Linked DNA regions of Homo sapiens: region 2 is linked to region 1. Evidence: promoter capture Hi-C in 16 types of primary human blood cells and fetal thymus (Javierre and others, 2016). All regions are on one chromosome and are shown on one strand. The core of a region is centred on a gene start or on the middle of the fragment in contact, and the rest is flanking DNA. Distances in the headings are between cores, read along the strand shown.

Region 1 (3,587 bases), core at 164-2,663:
CAGATTGTCAAAGATTGAAAGAGGTATTCTCTTCTTTGCTGGTGGTTATGCAAACTGATCAGCATTTACAAAGAAGAATCTGGAAATATCTAACTGCAATCACTTGTGAGCCTTCACACACCCACACCTGGTCTGTGTGTGGCTCTGGGACTGTAGGAATGTTCTCCAAGCAACACTGGGAATCTACCCCACTTGGGGAGACAGCTGGAAGGGTGAGTAAGGAGAAAAGCATTGATGTCAATTTGACAAGAAACAAACAGAAACAAAAAATGCAGGAAAAAAATATTAGAGAAAATATAAGAGAAAGAACTGTCTGAGACAAAGAATCTACAGGGCTCACATCTGTAGAGCTATTAAGGGATTTTTTAAAAAATTACATGGAAAGGTAGATTACGTATCAGCAAAATGGACTTTTCATTTTAACAACACAGTCCACAAGAAAGGATCATTTAGCCCTCTTAGAGATGATTTCATAGAAAGGAAGGTTACTAAGGAATAAAATCACATGATGTGAAACATCTATATTACTTTTGGGACCATAGGGACCATTGCCTGCATTTTGTTGGGGAAATCATAATTATTTTGAGTTTCTTTGCTTGAGATAGGGTCTTGCTCTGTCTACAGGCATGGTGATGCACACTTATAATCCCAGCTACTCAGGAGGCTAAGGCAGGAGAATCACCTTAACTGGGGAGGCGGAGGTTACAGTGAGCCAAGATGGCATGCAGTGGTGCAAACACAGCTTACTGCAGCCTTGAACTCTGGGGCTCAAGTGATCCTCCTACCTTAGCTTCTGAAGTAGCTGGGACTACACACAAGCGCCATCACACCCGGCTAATTTTTTAATTTTTGTTTAAATTTTGTGTAGAGATGGGGTCTCTCTATGTTGCCCAGGCTGGTCTCAAACTTCTGGGCTCAAGCAATGCTCCCACTTCAGCCTCCCAAAGTGCTGGGAGCACAGGAGTGAGCCACTGTGCCTGGCAAGAAAATTTTTCTTGCCAATTCATAGATGGTGAACTAAAGGACATAGCAAAGGCAGCGCTATGCAGTGAAAAACAATAAAAGCAGAGCCGAGGCTGAGGTTCGTAAAGGGATCATGGGCTACTGATCTAAGGGAGACAGACAGAGGCTTGGCAGTTGATGAGGCATTTGGTCTTCACCCAGTGAATTACTGGTTTTGTTTACAGGCCATGTGACACAATCTCCTTCCAGGTCTGCCAAAAGCTACCATGAAAAGAGCAGACTCTTTTGGTAGTGGGTGTTTGAGCCCATGACACTTAGGGGCTACCTCAAGAAGGAAGCTTGAATCCAACTTCTAAAGGGTAAAATCCAAACACTAAGTTGTTAGGAAAATAGAGTAAAAGAAAACCCAACAGTGCTGTGTGCTGTCATTGTCGCTGCCTTCCCAGCCATGGAGCCATTACACTGGAGATAAAAGTTGTACCATATCCAAAAACAACAGTGAAAGCATCCACACCATTCAGTCACAAAGACTACACTGTTTATCTTTGCATTTCAAGCTTGTTAAGAAAAGCAGGCTGGGCACAGTGGCTCACGCCTGTAACCCCAGCACTTTGGGAGGCCAAGGCAGGTGGATCACCTGAGGTCACCTGCCTGACCAACATGGTGAAATCCCGTCTCTACTGAAAATACAATAATTAGCCAAGTGTGGTGGCAGGTGCCTGTAATCCCAGGTACTTGGAAGCCTAAGACAGGAGAATCACTTGAACCCCGGAGGCGGAGGTTGCAGTGAGCCGATTGGGCCACTGCACTCTAGCCTGGATGACAGAGCAAGACTCTGTCTCAAAAAAAAAAAAAAAAAAAAGCTTGTTAAGAAAAGCAGTTTGTAACCAGGGAGAGTGAAAGCCATCTGGATGCGAGGATGTTGGCTACCTTGGGAGGGGACTGGGTGGTAACTGGTAGGAGGCTCAGGGGGCTTTGCTGGTTATGCTGTTTCCCGACCTGGATGCTGATTATGTGACTGTGCTCCCTTTGTGAAATCCATGGAGCTGTCCACTTATGTGCACTTTTCTGTATGTCTGTTAATTTTCTTTTTTTTTTTTTTTTTTTTTTTTTTTTTGAGACAAGGTCTGGCTCTGTCACCCAGGCTGGAGTGCAGTGACACAATCTTGGCTTACTGCAACCTCTGCCTCCCAGGTACAAGCCTTCCACCTCAGCTTCCTGAGCAGCTCGGACTACAGGGACACAACACCACACCCAGCTAATTTTTGTATTTTTTGTAGAGACAGGTATAACCTGTTGGCCAGGATGGTCTCGAACTCCTGAGCTCAAGCAATCTGCCTGCCTCTGCCTCACAAAGTGTTGGGATTATAGGTATGAGCCATAATCCCACCTGGGCTCTGTTAATTTTCAGTGAAATGTACTGTCAAAGACTGCTTTGTCTTTGCCTAGAGAAAAGAATTAGGAGAGGCTTTTCCCTGTATAATGTTTGAGATCTTTCTAATTTTGACACAAGTAAATGCATTATTACATAATGAAACTCAATGTCTAGGTGAGAGGTTGGCAAACTACAGCCTGCAGGCCAAATCTGGCTCAATGCCTGGTTTTCTTTTTAATTGGGATATAATTGACATACCAATTCAGTGGTTTTTAATATGTTTAATATATTCACAAGGTTGTACAACCAACCTCACTACGTAATTCCAGAACATTTCATCATCCCCTAAAGAAACCCTGTAACCCTTGGCAGTCATTCCTTATTCCCCCACTCCTAGAACTTGGCAACCATTAATCTAGTTTCTGTCTCTATGGATTTGTCTATTCGCTACAGAATACATTTAACAGAAATGGAATCATAGGCATATGAAACATTAGCATGTTTCCAAGGTTAATCTATGTTGTAGCCTGTGTCAGTATGTTATATCTATTTTTATGGCTGAATAATATTCCACTGTGTGGATATTTGTTTATATTCATTCAATTGATGGCCATTTGGATTGCTTCCACCTTGTGGCTATTATAAAAAGTGCTGCTATTGGCCAGGCATGGTGGCTCTTGCCTGTAATCCCAGTACTTTGGGAAGCCGAGGCAAGCGGATCACTTGAGGTCAGGAGTTCAAGACCAGCCTGGCCAACAAGGTGGAATCCCGTCTCTAGTAAATATACAAAAAATAAAAATAAAAAAATTAGGCGGGTGTGATGGTGCACACCTATAATCCCAGCTACTCAGGAGGCTGAGGCAGGAGAATCGCTTGAACTGGGGAGGCGGAGGTTACAGTGAGCCAAGATGGCACCACTGCACTCTAGCCTGGGTGACAGAGCTAGACTCCATCTCAAAAAAAAAAAAAAAAAAAAAAACACTGCTATGAACACTTGTGTACATGTTTTTATGTGAACATGTTTTCAATTCTCTTTGGTATATTCCTAGGAGTAAAATTGCCGATCATATGGTAATCTTGTGTGTGGTTTTGAAGAATGGTCAAACTGTCTTCCACACTGGGTGCAGCATTTTGTGGTTTGGATTTGCATTTCCCTAAGACCTAATGATGCTGAGCATATTTATATGTGCTTTTCGGCCACTTGTATGTTTTCTCTGGAGAAGTGTCTATTCAAATCCTTTGCCCATTT
Region 2 (3,609 bases), core at 845-3,344, 210 kb before region 1:
TGGGCCAGGTCCTCCCCGCACCCCCAACCCCATCACACGGCAGCGCCAAGACAGCCTGAGTGTTTCCACAACAAATTGGGCGTCCCTGACAGCTGTCTCACTCACAGCCAGATGTACACACCCAATTCCAGATGTGGGGAGAATCGAGGGTGAGGCCAGCATCAGCGGCCCAGGGGAGAGCTGGGAATTACAACCCTCACGCCCCAGGAATTTAGATTTGGCAACTGCAAGACCCTAGGATCCAGCTTGCCACGCACAGTTTCTCATCTTAAAGCTCCCAGTCACGGCATGGTGGGGTCATTACGGCCCTTTACAGAAGTCGAAGCTGAACCTCAGAGATGTTAAGTAACATTGGCGACGTCATCCAGTTAGGAAGTGGAAGAGTGGGTACCCAGCCTGGTCCACGTGGTTCCCATGCAGTGGGCCACGCCTACTTCCATAATATGTTTGGGGAGCGGGAGAGAAAGGGGCTCACAGCTAGGCTGGGAACAGTGGGTCCCCAGATCTCCTCCATCTACATCCTGACCTTTGGCTGCCCCCGTCTGCCCAACTTTCATGTGTCCAGAGATATGAGAATGAGGTCTCCATCAGGACAGGGCTGTGGGGAGCTGGGAGGGGAGCTCCCTGCAGCAGTCGGGGAGCAGATAGGAGCATCCTAGCTCTCTGTGATTGCCCTGGACAGGAGCCCTGGACCTCCCAATGAGAAAATGACTTCCGGCAGGCAGGGATCCTCCTATCATGAAGAATATTAGGCCACCTCACACCCCCTCTTCTCCTAAATCAGGAGACTGTCCTTAAATCCAGCTCCACCTGGGACTTCCTCAGTAACCTTCAGCAAGACGCCTCTCCTCTCTGGGTCTCACCTTTCCCATCTATAAAATGGGCTGACAACGAAGCCACCACTAAAGGGCCACTGGAGATCCCACTGCAATATTGCAGGTGAGAGCGCCAATGTACAATAGCGGGGTTCAGCGGGTCACTGTAGGTTTTATCATTCATTCAGCAAATATCTACAAGGCCTTCCTTCCTCAAGCACTTCGATTCTCCGGGGCCAGTGCTTTGAACAATAGCAAAAACGAAGGGCTCCTGACCCCAGGCGTCCACCTCCTCCCGCCCTCCTAGACCTCGAGGATGCAGAGACCCTCTAGCGGCCGCTGGGTCTCCCGGGGTCCCGGTGCCTCCGGAGAGGTGCCCGGCTCCGCGGCCGCCAGGTGGCGCGCGTGCTCCCTTGATCGCCTCGTGTCCCGGAGGACTCCGAGAGCGCACCGGGGTCTCCAGCGCCCCTCCCCCGGGCTCCAGGCAGGCGGTCCCCAAGGAGCTGCGCGTTCAAGTACCAGATGGGGATTACCTGCGAGATCTTTTTGCTTCGGGGTTTCTGGTCCCACAATCGGGGAAAAAGGGGGCGATTGGGGACCCTGCCCTAGTCTCCAAGCTCTGGGAGGAGCCTCCCCCCTGTGCTTTCCGGCCTGGGCGATGTCCTAGTGTCCGCTCGGCACAGGGCCAGAGCTCGGGCGTGCGGGCCCCCGCCCCTCCCACGGGTCCGGCTCCTTAGCTCCGGCTCGGGTTCCTGCGCCGACCCCTCCCCACTCCTACCCGGGCGGAGCCCAGCCCAGCCCGGATCCGTTTCAGGACATTCGCGGCCGCAGCTAAAGATAGGAGAACAACTCACTATCGGCTAAAAATACGGCCCCCAGCCCCGGTGGGGATGCTGGGCGGCGGGGCACCCCTGGGTCTCGGGAGGGGGGCGGGGGCCCGGACACAAAATGGAGGGCAGAACGGGGAATTCGGGGTCGGGATGCGTTGCGCCCCCACGGACCGTGGCGGGCACGGGCGAGGCTGCGGGAACCCAGATGCGGGTGGGAAGCCCCATGGAGCCCTAGGAGCCCTCGAAAGGAACTGAGTGAGGTGAGAGGCAGAGCCAGGGCGCGAGCTGGGGCGGGGCGCCACAGAGATGGGCCTCTCGGGGGACCCCCGCGAAGCTGCGAAAATCCCAGCCCGAACTCACCGTGAGGCGCGCAGACGGCAGACCGGCGGACAGCAAGGTCTCAGGAGCTGGACAGCGCGGCGGCCGGACCCGACCGGCGGTGAACTTACAGAGTGCACCGCGGACCCCGCAGCCCCGCCCCGGCCCGCGGAGCCAATGCCGGGGCCGCGCCAGCCAAGCCCCTCCCCATCCCCGCCCAGGCCCCGCCCCACTCCGGGCACCGCCCGGGGCTCCCGGCGTGGGAGGTGCCGCTCCCGGGTCCAGCGGTCGCGCGCGCCCTGGAGTCCTGTCCTGGTTCTGGCGGCTGAGGGCCGGGTGGCGCAGGCGGCCTCCGGCTGTGCCCATGGGAACTAAAACCTTCGGTTCTAGAAGAGCCGGGGGAGAGGCTCCGGGAAGACCGAATTCTTCAGAAATCGCAGAGAGACCTTGGACCGGATCCTTCCCTGCAGGGCTGCGTCGGGGAAGCGCCGGCACAAGTATATTCAGCGACTTCCTTGGAAGCGCCTACGTTAGAATACTACAAACTTACAAGCTAGTTGATCAGTTTACCTCCCACTAGAAAAGACAGTATGGGAAGGCAGAGGCCGCGTGGCCTGGACCCCCGTCTTTGCTGTCAGGCTTCCAGAGTGAAGGTGGGGCTCATATTCAGACTAGTTCCTGGTCCATTCATTCTTTCAGTCAGTCAGTCAGTCATTCCTACAGGGCCAGAAACTTTTTTTTTTTTTGAGACAGAGTTTCGCTCTTGTTGCCCAGACTGCTCACCGCAACCTCCGTCTCCTGGGTTCAAGAGATTCTCCTGCCTCAGCCTCCCGAGTAGCTGGGATTACAGGCATGTGCCAGCACACCTGGCTAATTTTTGTATTCTTAGTAGAGACGGAGTTTCTCCATGTTGGCCAGGCTGGTCTCGAATTCCCGACCTCAAGTGATCTGCCCGCCTCGGCCTCCCGAAGTGCTGCAATTACAGGCGTGAGCCACCGCGCCCGGCCCAGAAACATGTTTTGAAGGGCAGGCACCGCACAGGGTGCTGGAGACAGACTGAAGGAAACTGCACCTCTCAGTGACTCAAGAGAGATTTGTTGAGTATCTACCAAGTGCCTAGCGCTGTTCTTGTCCCTGGGGATTCAGCCTCTGGATTGGGACCTGCAGCCCAGAGAAGGGAAATGGGGGAAATCCAAGTTCCCAGGTACATCATGATACCCTTCCAGGTGGGTAAGTGCTAAGAAGAGTGGGGCAGAGGAAGTGGTGGGTAGTGACGGGGTGGACAGACCTCACTTTCTAGAGGATGACAGCTATGCCAGCTCAGTGTGACCAGGATGGTTGGCTTCAATGCTGTCAGTGTGGGAAGGGCTTTTAGGGAGGCAGAGCCGGGAAGACCTCAGTGGGGGAGGCAGGATGCTGGGGGTGGGGGAAGATGCCAGACAAGCTGGGAGGTCCGGATGGGAAGAAGGGGATCATGGTAGGTAAAATAACAGCCCCCCTAAATATGTTCACATCTAGCCAGGTGCTGTGGCTCATGCCTATAATCCCAGCACTTTGGGAGGCCAAGGTGGGAGGATTGCTTGGGTCCAGGAGTTTGACACTGACACCAGCCTGAGCAACATAGTGAGACCCTGTTTCTACAACAA

Evidence for each region. The method cuts DNA at HindIII sites, captures the fragments that hold promoters and counts their contacts. A CHiCAGO score of 5 or more calls a contact.
Region 2: a contact is called between the fragment with the promoter of CDC42EP2 here and a fragment that was not itself captured in region 1, in 1 of 17 cell types (megakaryocytes). The highest score is 5.1, in megakaryocytes.

What each region holds. Positions count from the first base shown.
Region 1 is chr11:65,100,256-65,103,842 of GRCh38, reverse strand. The region is part of intron 2 of VPS51 (VPS51 subunit of GARP complex); the gene reads right to left. Among named protein-coding and RNA genes, the nearest start is that of VPS51, 5.8 kb to the right of the region's middle. RefSeq lists a silencer at 1,312-1,606. The HindIII fragment of the contact is 219 bases long and covers 1,304-1,522 here.
Region 2 is chr11:65,313,351-65,316,959 of GRCh38, reverse strand. It overlaps CDC42EP2 (CDC42 effector protein 2), which reads right to left and starts at 2,094. Exons shown (of 2, transcript NM_006779.4): 1 at 2,006-2,094. It overlaps LOC105369344 (a long non-coding RNA gene), which reads left to right and starts at 2,271. Exons shown (of 3, transcript XR_007062727.1): 1 at 2,271-3,189. RefSeq lists silencers at 1,137-1,296, 1,467-1,596, 2,057-2,436. The HindIII fragment of the contact is 12,136 bases long and covers 1-3,609 here.